Regions from separate parts of the Homo sapiens genome. Here region 1 is linked to region 2. Evidence: promoter capture Hi-C in 16 types of primary human blood cells and fetal thymus (Javierre and others, 2016). All regions are on one chromosome and are shown on one strand. The core of a region is centred on a gene start or on the middle of the fragment in contact, and the rest is flanking DNA. Distances in the headings are between cores, read along the strand shown. Region 1 overlaps IP6K1 (inositol hexakisphosphate kinase 1). Region 2 holds the start of MON1A (MON1 vesicular trafficking associated A).

The links. The method cuts DNA at HindIII sites, captures the fragments that hold promoters and counts their contacts. A CHiCAGO score of 5 or more calls a contact.
Region 1: a contact is called between a fragment that was not itself captured here and the fragment with the promoter of MON1A in region 2, in 1 of 17 cell types (endothelial precursors). The highest score is 5.0, in endothelial precursors.

What each region holds. Positions count from the first base shown.
Region 1 is chr3:49,741,553-49,748,120 of GRCh38, reverse strand. It overlaps IP6K1 (inositol hexakisphosphate kinase 1), which reads left to right. Exons shown (of 6, transcript NM_153273.4): 2 at 1-303. The coding sequence starts at 81. Among named protein-coding and RNA genes, the nearest start is that of GMPPB, 21 kb to the right of the region's middle. The HindIII fragment of the contact is 2,332 bases long and covers 3,106-5,437 here.
Region 2 is chr3:49,926,568-49,932,862 of GRCh38, reverse strand. MON1A (MON1 vesicular trafficking associated A) reads left to right here and starts at 3,052. Exons shown (of 6, transcript NM_032355.4): 1 at 3,052-3,254. RefSeq lists a silencer at 2,996-3,345. The HindIII fragment of the contact is 4,855 bases long and covers 2,512-6,295 here.

The DNA of each region.
Region 1 (6,568 bases), core at 3,022-5,521, 190 kb after region 2:
CAGGACCTTCTATGTAGCTCTCCTTTTGTGGCCCATGTGCTGCATCCTCTGCCCTCAGTGTGCAACTGGCCCCCAACGCAATGTGTGTTTGTCAAACCATGGAAGTGGGGCAGTATGGCAAGAATGCAAGTCGGGCTGGAGACCGGGGAGTCCTCCTGGAGCCCTTCATCCACCAAGTAGGCGGACACAGCAGCATGATGCGTTACGACGATCACACTGTGTGCAAGCCCCTCATCTCCCGGGAACAGCGCTTTTACGAGTCCCTCCCTCCCGAAATGAAGGAGTTCACCCCTGAATACAAAGGTCAGTCACTGGCCAGTTTAATGAAAGCAGCAGCCTTGGGCTTATAGACCCCTTGCCACAGTTTTTTCTTGGTTTGTTTGCCATGATATATCATTGTAGGTCTTTTTTCTCAAAGCACGAAGTCACTTTGTTAGATAAAATTAGAGGCTGAAAGCATCAGCAAGGTCTTTAGATCTTGAAAATTGAATTTATTAATAGGTAAAGCTGAGAAAAAGTCATAGCATTAAGTTCCATTGGTGGAAAAGAGCATGCTGTTGTCAGTGAATTTTCCCATTTGCTGTGACACTAGTCTGGGAGAGAAGAGGGAACATTTCTCTCGTCCCGGAGGCGGAATGGATACTTCCAGGTTAAAGCGGTTAGATAGCTGGCAGTGGTGCTGTGTGTATCCTGTGTCTATATGTGCTGGGGCAAAGAATTGTTGGTAAGAAATGCAGGGACTTTCTGGGGCCTGGAAGTCCTGATATTTGAAGGAAAAATAATTTATTTTAAAATATAAGTCAACTTTATAGAAAAGAACCTCATGAATATTAATTATACCAGAATTAACTAACTTTATTTTAAAATCTGATCTTTGTCAGTGTTTATAAATTTTTATGATTGCTCATTGTGTCTAAGTTTTTTTTTTACATTCTGCTTTATAACTTTAAGTTGTATGATTTCAGTCAGGTTAACACTGTCCTTTACTTAGGAGAGTTTCAATTTAGAAAAACCAGTGCTATAGAATTGACTTTTTGTTTCCTTAACTTTTTAAAAAAAATTTTGGTAAAATGTACATAACATAACATTCACCATTTTAAAGTGTATAATTTAGTGGCATTAACACATTCACAATGTTGTATAGCCACTGTCCATTTCCTGAATTTTTCATCATCTGAAACAAACTCGGTACCTATTAAATAATAACTCCCCATTCTTCCATCATCTGATCCCCTGGTAACCTCTTGTTTACTTTCTGTCTCTACAGATTTGCCTATTGTAGATATTTCATAAAAGTGAAATCATTACAATTTTTGACCTTTTGTGTCTGGCTTGGTTCATTTAGCTTAATGTTTACAAGGTTCGTTCATGTCATAGTGTGTATTAAAACTCCATTCTTGGCCGGGCACAGTGGCTCACATCTGTAATCCTAGCACTTTTTTTTTTTTTTTGAGAGTTTCTCTCTGTTGCCAGGCTAGAGTGCAGTGGCGCGATCTTGGTTTACTGCAACCTCCAACTCCCGGGTTCAAGCGAAGCGATTCTCCTGCCTCAGCCTCCCAAGTAGCTGGGATTACAGACATGTGCCACCACGCCCAGCTATTTTTTGTATTTTTAGTAGAGACAGGGTTTCACCATGTTGGCCAGGATGGCCTTGATCTCCTGACCTTGTGATCCGCCTGCCTCGGCCTCCCAAAGTGCTAGGATTACAAGCGTGAGCCACCGTGCCTGGCCCACTTCATTCTTTTTTATGGCTGAATAATATTTAATTGTAAGTGTATACCACATTTTGTTTATTCATTCATCTGTTGATGGACACCTGGGTTGTTTCCACCTTTTGGCTATTGCGAATAATGCTGCTGTGAACATTGTCTTACAAATGTCCATATGAGTCACTGCTTTTAATTCTTTTGGGTATATGCCTAGGGGTGGAATTGTCAGATCATGTGGAAGTTCTTTGTTTACCTTTCGGAGGAACTGCCAAACTGTTTCCCACAGTGGCTGCACCACTTTGCCTTCTTACCAGCAATGTACAAGGGTCCCTATTTCTCCACATCCTTACCAACACTCCTTTTCTTTTCTTTTTGTAGCCATCCTAGTGGATGTGTGTGGTATCTGTGGCTTTGACTTGCTTTTTCCTAATGTCTAACGAATGATGCAGAGGATTTTTTTGTTATTGTCTGTTGGTATACCTTCTTAAAGAAATGTCTATTCAAGTCCTTTGACCATTTTGAATTGGGTTGTTTCTGTCTTTTTTTTTTTTTTTTTTTGAGACAGAGTCTTGCTCTGTCGCCCAGGCTGGAGTGCAGTGGCACGATCTCGGCTCACTGCAATCTCCACCTCCGTGTTCAAGCGATTCTTCTGCCTCAGCCTCCCAAGTAGCTGGGATTACAGGCATGTGCCACCACGCCTAACTAAATTTTGTATTTTTAGTAGAGATGGGGTTTCACCATGTTGGGCAAGCTGCTTTCGAACTCCTGACTTTAGGTGATTTGCCTGCCTTGGCCTCCCAAAATGCTGGGATTACAGTCATGTGCCACCATGCCTGGCTAATTTTTGTATTTTTAGTAGAGACGGGGTTTTGCCATATTGGCCAGGCTGGTCTCAAACTCAACTCAGGTGACCTACCTGCCTTGGCCTCCCAAAGTGTTGGGATTATAGGTGTGAGCCACCATGACTGGCCTGGGTTGTTTCTTAATTGGCAGAAAGAGGTGAACCAGTTTTTAGGACATCTCAAGCTTTTTAAATTTCATTTTTATTTTAATTAACCTCAGGGATTTTACTTATGCTTGGAATGTTCTTTCCAGTACCCTTATCCACACCTGCTCCTCCAACCTTTAGTTTATTAGGTCTCCCCAGACACTTCTTCCCTGATCATCCTATATTATATTCTGCTCTGGAAACCATATTTTCAGTGATAGAACCTTACTTAGTTTCTTCATAGCACTTATCACAATCTGTATTTTTGTCTATGTGTTTGTTTTTCACATTAGTATGGAAGCTCCTTGAAGGTATGGACTTTTTTTTTTGTCTTTTACACTTATGAGTTCAGGGCCTGGCATCTAGTAGATGGTCAGTAAATACTTGATAAATGAATGAGGCAAAGCTTATTTGCATAAATGTACAGAAGCCTTGAACTTCACATTTAGTACTGCAAGCACTAACAGTTGATGATTGTAGCTGGTCATACTAAATAAATGAAAATTTGTTTTTAAACCTGCCAAGATATGAAATATTATTGACACTTTTTCTTAGCTTAATTGAGCTTAAACACCTGTGCTGATAGCAGCAATTAGATGTGTGTATGTGTGTGGGCTAGTAATCATACATGTATTTCTTAGCTCCATGTGCTGAAAGGGCCTAAAAGCAGTGATACTTCAGTAGCAATCAGTATATCTAGTAACCAAATCCTGAGTTTTCTAAATACCATTCTTACAATAAAAAGAAACAGAGCTCCTTGGTGAAATGGTTGGTTCCTGAGTTCGGGCAGGAAAATTATAAGACAAGCCTAGAACATCTTATGGTGACAGATAGTAAAGAAGTGGTCAAAAATCATGTCAGAAGTACGAAGAGCTAACTTTAAAGGAATTGAAGGGCCCAATCTAGAAGAATTTAAATGACAAAATATCCACAAGTCTATACTGATAAATACATGGATATGAAGGGACAACTCTTCCTTATAGAATTCTAATTTCTTTTTTTTTTTTTTTTTTTTTTTTTTTGAGACGGAGTCTCGCTCTGTTGTCCAGGTTGGAGTGCAGTGGCGCAGTCTCGCCTCACTGCAAGCTCTGCCCCCCGGGTTCACGCCATTCTTCTGCCTCAGCCTCCCGAGTAGCTGGGACTACAGGCTCCCGCCACCAAGCCTGGCTAATCTTTTGTATTTTTAGTAGAGACAGGGTTTCACCATGTTAGCCAGGATGGTCTCAATCTCCTGACCTTGTGATCCACCTGCCTCGGCCTCCCAAAGTGCTGGGATTACAGGAGTGAGCCACCGTGCCCGGCCAGAATTCTGATTTATTTTGATTAATAAATATAGAAGGAATGATGGGAATAGAAGTCACCATTAGGCAGACAACACAGTAATACCATTCAGCACACACCATTAGGCATTACACACACCATTAGACATTACAACACAGTAATAATTGTGGCGCATTGTGCAGTGGTGCAATCATACCTCACTGCAGCCTCGAAACCATGGCTCCGCCGGGCATGGTGGCTCATGCCTATAATCCTAGCACTTTGGGAGGCCGAGGCAGGCGGATCACCTGAGGTCAGGAGTTCGAGACCAGCCTCGCCAACATGGTGAAACCCTGTCTCTACTAAAAATACAAAACTTAGTTGGGTGTGCTGGCAGGTGCCTATAATCCCAGTTACTTGGGAGGCTGAGGCAGAAGAATCACTTGAACCCGGGAGGCAGAGGTTGCAGTGAGCAGAGACCACGCCATTGCATTCCAGCCTGGGCAACAAGAGTGAAACTCTTGTCTCAAAAAAAAAAAAAAAACAAAAAAAAAAAACTATGGCTCAAGTGATCCTCCCACCTCAGCCCCCCGAGTAGCTGGGACTATAGGCACGCCACTACAACTAGGTAATTTTTAAAGTTTTTTGTAGAGACAGGGTCTTGCTCTGTTACCCAGGCTAGTTTTGAACTCCTAGCCTCAAGGAATCCTCCCACCTTGGCCTCTCATAGTGCTGAGATTTAAGAGATCGGACCTCACTATGTTGCCTGGGCTAGTCTTGAACTCCTGGTCTCAAGTGATCCTCCTCCATGAGGCATGATACCTCAGCCTCCCAAGTAGCTGGGATCACAGGTGTGAGCCACTGCTCCCAGCTGAAAGGTAAGTGTGTGTGTGTGTGTGTGTGTGTGTGTGTGTGTGTGTGTATTTTGTTTTTGTTTTTGTTTTGAGATAGGGTCTTGCTTCATTGCCTAGGCTAGAGTGCAGTGGTATGAACTTGGCTCACTGCAACCTCTACCTCCTGGGTTCAAGGACCTCAGCCTCCTGAGTAGCTGGGACTTACAGGTGCCTGCCACCATTCCTGGCTAATTTTTGTATTTTTAGTAGAGATGGGGTTTCACCATGTTGGTCAGGTTGGTCTCGAACTCCTGACCTTAAGTGACCCACTTGCCTTGGCCTCCCAAAGTGCCTGGATACAGGTATGAGCCACCGTGGCTGGACTGTGTGTTTTTTTAATATAAAATTTTAGTCCAATTTATTTATTTATATACTATTTTGAGACAGGGTCTCACTCTGTTGCCCAGACTGGAATGCAGTGGCACGATCTCAACTCACCACAGCCTTGACCTCCTGGGCTCAAGTGATTCTCCCACCTCAGCCTCTGGAGTAGCTGGGACCACAGGTGTGCACCGGCTCTTTTTTTTTGTATTTTGTAGAGACAGGGTCTCACCATGTTGCCCAGGCGGGTCTCAAACTTCTAAGCTTAAGTGATCTGCCTGCCTTGGCCTCCCAATGTGCTGGGATTACAGATGTGAGCCACCATGCCTGGCCCTGAAATAGATTAATTTGACTAATAATATCTTCCACTATGCTTCTATTTTTTTTTCTTTTTCTTTTTTGAGATGGAGTCTCACTCTGTTGCCCAGGCTGGAGTGCAGTGGCGCGATCTTGGCTCACTGCAAGCTCTGCCTCCCGGGCTCACGCCATTCTCCTGCCTCAGCCTCCCGAGTAGTTGGGACTACAGGCGTGTACCACCACGCCCGGCTAATTTTTTGTATTTTTAGTAGAGACAGGGTTTCACCGTGTTAGCCAGGATGGTCTCAATCTCCTGACCTCGTGATCCGCCCCCCTCAGCCTCCCAAAGTGCTGGGATTACAGGCGTAAGCCACCGTGCCCAGCCTATGCTTCTATTTTCTTTGACTAAATTGGGCTTCATTTGACTTAGAAAGAAGGGATTAATTTTAGTTTAATTGAATTGTACTTTTGAGCTAGCATATTTATTCTTTCCTAGTGAAAATGTAGCCTAAGCAAAGAAAATAAAGTAGATCCTAAGAATTTACTGTGGCTTTTATTTTTTTATTTTTATTTTGAGACAGGGTCTTGCTGTGTCGCCCAGGCTGGAGTGCAGTGGTACAGTCATGGCTCACTGCAGACTCAAACTCCTGACCTCAAGCAATCCTCTCATATTATGGCCTTTAAAGATACCTGTTACTCAGTTTGAGAGGAGGAAGGTGTGAGGAAATACTGAACCAGTGCTAGAGACTGCCAACCCTTCCCTGGGAGGCACCTTGAAGTTCTAAATTGTCTTGTCCCAGTTCTGATGGTTGTAATTTAGAGAACACCTATCTGGAAGCAGGGCTCATTTACCTTTTAAGGGATTTTTTCCTTAGCATCAGAAGGACTCCATGAGCTGACAGGGCCTATAGTTTTATTTCTGGCTTTGGCATATTTATGGCAGAATGTTTGGCCTTCAGTGTTTTGAATGTGGATGGATAGGTGGCTGAAGCTACATTTATAAAGTGTTTGGGACTGTTAAAGTTTCCTAGCCACTTGGAGAAAGCAGTGTGTTTATTTCTGGCTTTGTTCTTATTTAGCAGCCTTAGAATATTTATTTT
Region 2 (6,295 bases), core at 1,803-4,302:
TACAAAAATTAGGCTGGACGCAGTGGCTCACGCCTGTAATCCCAGCACTTTGGGAGGCCGAGGCGGGCGGATCACAAGGTCAAGAGATTGAGACCATCCTGGCCAACATGGTGGAACCCCATCTCTACTAAAAATAAAAAAATTAGCTGGGCATGGTGGTGCATGCCTGTAGTCCCAGCTACTTGGGAGGCTGAGGCAGGAGAATCGCTTGAACGTGGGAGGCTAAGGTTGCAGTGAGCCGAGATAGTGCCACTGCACTCCAGACTGGGTGACTGAGCAAGACTTCATCTCAAAAAAACAAAACAAAACAAAAAACTGGCCGGGCGCAGTGGCTCATACCTGTAATCCCAGCACTTTGGGAGGCCGAGATGGATGAATCACGAGGTCAGGAGTTCGAGACCAGTCTGACCAACATGGTGAAACATGTCTCTACTAAAAATACAAAAATCACAAAAATTTGCCGGGCGTGGTGGTACGCACCTGTAATCCCAGCTACTCTGGAGGCTGAGGCAGGAAAATTGCTTGAACGCGGGAGGCGGAGGTTGCAGTGAGCTGAGATCACGTCACTGCACTCCAGCCTGGGCAACAGAGCGAGACTCCGTCTCAAAAAAAAAAAAAAAAAGAAAACTTTAAATTTGTCTTCTGGGCGGGGTGTGGTGGCTCATGCCTGTAATCCCAGCACTTTGGGAGGCTGAGGCGGGTGGATCACGAGGTCAGGAGTTCAAGACCAGCCTGGCCAAGATGGTGAAACCCTGTCTCTACTAAAAATACAAAAATTAGCTGGGCGTGGTGGTAGGTACCTGTAATCCCAGCCACTCGGGAGGCTGAGGCAGAGAACTACTTGAACCCAGAAGGCAGAGGTTGCAGTGAGCTGAGATGGCACCACTGCACTCTAGCCTGGATGATAGAGACTTCATTTGAAAAAAAATAAGTAAATTAAATTAATTTGTCTTCTATGGAGATGAATTCTATAGGGTGTAAATTCAAGTTAATGAAATATAGGCAGGATATTAGCCAGGCATGGTGGCTTATGCCTGTAATCACAGTACTTTGGGAGGCCAAGATGGGAAAATTGCTTGAGGCCAAGAGTTCGATACCAGCCTTGTCAACATAGCATAGTGAAACCACCATCTCTAAAAAAAAAATAAAAAAAGAAAAAGAAAAAGGAAAGGAACATAGCCAGGACATTTCTGTACCAAGCAGAGAATGTTATATCTTGACTTAAACTCTCCTTCCTTCCTTCCTTCCTCCCTCCCTCCCTTCCTTCCTTCTTTCTTAACTTTCTCCTTCTTGTTGTCCATGATCATGGCTCACTTCAGACTTGATCTCCTGGGCTCAAGTAATTCTTCCTGCTTCAGCCTGTGGAGTAATTGGGATTACAAGGCTGTGCCACCAAGCCCAGCTCATGGCTCAAACTCTTATAGTGTAATAATTAGAGAAAACAACTGTATAAATGATTCTTGCCCTAAGGGAGGGAACTTGGACTTCTGAGCTAATGAGGAGATAAAATACTGAGTGATCTGTGGAGACCTGGAGAGACTCTCAGTTAAGGAATAGGGCATTTTCTTATGTCCTTACCTAAAAGTGGGGGACATGGGGGTGAGAAAGCTTCCCTTAGACTATGTGCAAGAACTTGATAGCCTTATGCAAAGCCATCTTCAGTGAAAGGCCACAGCTTTGTCACCATGTCAGTCACAGGCCAGTGTTGTGGAAGCAGGCTACAAGTGGCAGCCATCTGAGACTGGAAGAAAAGCCCAGGGGCGGAGCTCTACCCTAACTCCAGTGTAGGGCTTAGAGAGGAAAAGGACACTGCCCCCAGGTGCTTGTGGAGCAGCAGGGAAAGTCAGAGGAGTGATCTGACTTTTTTTTTCATCCTATTAACTTTTGGGAGAATTAACCATAAGGCTGTAAAGTGAATTAATTGCTTCAGAAAAGAACATGAGCAGTGGTGCCAAACACTAATTTTACTTTTTAAAACCATCTCTAAAAATAAGGGTCTTTTGGGAGAGCCTGTTGTTGACTGTTTTCCTGTTGTTTTTATTGCTTTGCGTCTAGGAAATTACAAACAATGATTCTTTGCAATGGTAAATCACCTGGGGAGCTTTTAAAACAATAGTGATGCCTGGCTCCCCAACACTCCACCCTACTCTAAATTCAATTAAATCAAAATCTCTAGGGCTGGTGTCCAGGCATTAGTTTTTTTGTTGTTGTTTTTGAGACAGGGTCTCGCTCTGGTGCTCAGGCTGGAGTGCAGGGCATGATCATGGCTCACAGCAACCTCGACCTCCTGGAATCCCACTTCAGCCTCCCGAGTATCTGGGACTACAGGCACACGCCATCAAGCCTGGCTAGTTTTTGTATTTTTAGTAGAGATGGGGTTTCACCATGTTGGCCAGGCTGGTCTGGAACTCCTGACCTCAAGTGATCCGCCCACCTCGGTCTCCCAAGTGTTGGGATTACAGGCGTGAGCCGCCTCGCCCGTCCTAGTTCTTTTTTTTTTTTTTTAAAGCTTCCCGGCTTATTCTATGTGCCGTCAGAGTTGAGAACTACCGTTCTAGAGCATTATACTGATACATTAAAACGTGGCTACAAATATGTTTTTAGAAACAATTAGTGCGACTTTTGCGCATGCCCACATCCTTTACAGCCTGTGTGGCTGGGCCCACTAATGACATTTATCCAGTCCCCCAAACTTGCACTGTCCTTCCACAATCAGTGGGAGAAACAATCCTAACGTCCCTTTCTCTCACTTGAAATGAACTGCTAGCTGGCTCGGACGGAGAGGCCCAGAGTCCAGGGCTGTTCTGTGTGGGACTCTAGACTCGGAGGAGGCGCCCAGGCCCCTAGAAGGCGGCGCCGGATGAGGCAATCGCGGACCCGGGTCAGGACCTGCCCACGGCTCTGCTGGGACTAGGAGCCCAGAACCAGTCCCTCGGCGCCGCAGGCGGCCAAACGCTAAGGACTACATTTCCCACAATGCACCCCGGGGGCGGGCCGAGTCGGGCTGAGCGGCTGGAGCTGGGCCTTGGCCGCGAGAGGCCGGCGAAAGCTATCTTCCTGCACCGGCGGCCGGGTGAGGGCGGTGGGAGGGAGCGGTGCCTGCGCTGTGGCCATGTCTGTGTACGCAGGGGGCCGGGGCCCCGCGAAGCTGTGCCCTCAGGCCGGCCCCGGCCGGACACCCTTACCCCTCCATGGGTCCGGCAGAGGGCAGTGACCGGCACCTTCTGTGCGTCCTGGACTCCTCTGAGAAACAGGTGAGTTGACTGCCAGCCCACGTGGCCTGGAGGCACCTAGAGACTGGAGAGCTGTCATCTTTGGAGGGAGGGGCTTGAAGACGGGGGCCTCCAGCCATCAACGCTATCGTTTGCAATGGGAAGACTGTGTCTCCCTGCGGTCCCTCAGCCGGCTAGTCCCCAGCTGGGGAATACAAAAGGCGAGATCTGGAACCCATCCTTTGGCTGGGAGGGCGAGATCCGGTAGGGGGCAGTGGCCAGGTAGGACTCTCCCCACTCCCCCACCCCCGCCCCGCCAACAAACGTACACATATTCGGCCGGTAGAGTCTTCTCAAAAAGCAACAGAGGTAACTGGGATGAGCGGGGCAGCACCTGGAAGGGGCTTGGGTCTTTGCTTTGTTGTTTTTAGACGGAGTTTCACTCTTGTTGCCCAGTCTGGAGTGCAGTGGTGTGATCTCAGCTCTCTGCAACCTCCGCCTCCCAGGTTCAAGCGATTCTCCTGCCTCAGCCTCCCGAGTAGCTGGGATTACAGGCATGCGCCACCACGCCCAGCTAATTTTTTGTATTTTTGTATTTTTTTAGTAGAGACGGGGTTTCACCATGTTGGCCAGGCTCGTCTTGAACTCCTGACCTCAGGTGATCTGCCTGCCTCAGCTTCCCAAAGTGCTGGGATTACAGGCATGAGCCACTGCGCCTGGCCGGACTTTGCACCAGTTTGCCTGGTGCAACTGGGTTGTCCCTTGTACTGGGTGAGCCACCCTTTCTGGGCACAAGTTTGCAGAGGGAGAGTGAGCACCCTTTGTCAGGGAGGGAAGTAACCGCCAGAAGTGACAAGGACCAGACTGTGATCTCAGCATGGAGTAGGCATCCTGCTGAAGCAGCCATAGCACAGCCTCACCTGGGCCTTGTCTGCCACACATCCTGTATCCTGGCACCTCCTTTCCAGACAGGCCGCTCCAAAGGGTTAAGGTGAAATGAAGTGCTATCCAAGCAAGAAGAGGGAGCAGGAGTGGTAGGGAGTCAGTAGGGAGGGGCTTCTGAAGGCCTTCTCTGCTCCAAGGCTGCCTGAGTGAGAGAGGCACACTACAAGGGCTGATTGAGCCAACTTGTTTGGTGACATTGCTCACAGGCATAGCAGGGCACTTCTAGGAAAAGCAAGGCCTGGGGCTTCTAGAGGGGTTGTCTGAGAAGGGTTCCCTGAGAAGGGGCATCTGGGGCTGGTTCTAAGAGACCTCCTTTGCCTAACTTCTTCAATTCTAGCCTCCCAGGAGCTTCAGTTGCACAGTTGTGGCTCCAATGGGGGTTGGGGTGGATTTTGCTGTGATTCACTCAGCCTCCCTGTCTGAGTTTCCAGAGTAAGTATTCAGAGAGCTGTTTGCTTCATCAGGCCTCTGGCTGGACCCCAGACTGACCTAGGAGATGCTGAGATACTGTATGATCTCAGGTGGCAGGAGAACTATTGTGAAGGAAGCATCCACTAGCTCTGGCCAGCTGATCTGGCCCCCGCCAACCCTTCCCCATGCAGGTACCGTGCTGGGTACCACTCAGCCACACTGGGCTTAGTCAGCTAAAGCCCACAAGGGATCAGTGGAGAGTGGGCCCTGAGGACAGAATAAGTAAGCTATTGTAGACCTTGTTTGGGTCTTTGAACCAAAAGTGCAACGTCACAGAGCAGTGGCATGTGGCAGACCAAGGAGTTTTTTGTTTTTTTTTGTTGTTTTTTTTTTTGAGACAGAGTTTCAATCTTTTGCCCAGGCTGGAGTGCAATGGCGCGATATCAGCTCACTGCAACCTCTGCCCCCTGGGTTCAAGTGATTCTCCTGCCTCAGCCTCCTGAGTAGCTGGGATTATAGGCGCCTGCCACCATACCTGGCTAATTAAGGAGTTTAATTTAGGAGATACTTCCAAGAGCAGCAGAGAGCCCGTTGTCTATTCCTGCAACTCCAGAGCCAGTGAACAACCAGTTAGCCTGGAGGAACTCCCAGCTGTCTATAAGACAGCTCTTTGACCTGACTCCCAACTGTCTATATGATAGCCCTAGCCTGAAGGTGAGTCGCTTCAGGCTAGGGCCCACCTGGCTTTGCAAGGTCAGAAGCGTATTTGCCCATATGCCACTGTAGGCTGAGCAAAATCTCAGAGGCCCGATTTACATGGCACAGACCACTGGATTCATGTGGTATTATAAGTGCAGTCACACATGGACTGAATGCTAAGTAAGAATAATCAGGATGTGCTAATGGGAGCAACTGAGTATGTAATCAAATTACATGGATTATTTCATTTAATCTTCCCACAACCCAAGGAATCAATACTACTATCCCATTTTATAAATGAGAAAACTGAGACCAGGCCAGGTTAATCCAGGTCCCTCTAACTTCGGAGCCATTGTTCCTGAACACCTGAGTAGTACCAGTGATAAGTCTTCCCCACAGGCAGGGGTTTCCAGAGGCCACATCACAGGTGTGACAGAGCTGGGCATTCTTCAGAGATCTTTCAGTTTTCCCTTCCATTTTTCTTTTTTAATTGCCTGAGGGATAAAAACACAAGTTCAGCTGGGCGCGGTGGCTCATGCCTGTAATCCCAGCACTTTGGGAGGCCGAGGCCGGTGGATCACCTGAGGTCAGGAGTTTGGGACCAGCCTGGCCAACATGATGAAACCCCATCTCTACTAAAAATACAAAAATTGGATGGGCATGGTGGTACACACCTGTAATCCCAGCTACTCGGGAGGCTGAGGCACAAGAATTGCTTGAACCCAGGAGGCAGAGGTTGCAGTGAGCCAAGATCATGCCACTGCACTCCAGCCTGGGCGACAGAATGAGACTCCATCTCAAAAAAAAAAAAAATCTCCCTCCCAAAGATGTCTGTTGGCTGGATGTGGTGGCTCACACCTGTAATCCCAGCACTTTGGGAGCCCTAGGAGGGAGGATCTTCAGTTCAGGAGTTTGAGAACAGCCTGGACAACATACTGAGACCCCATCTCTACAAAAATAAAAATTAAAAAATTAGCCAGGCGTGGTGGCACGTGCCTGTAGTCTCAGGTACTCAGGAGGCTGAGGTG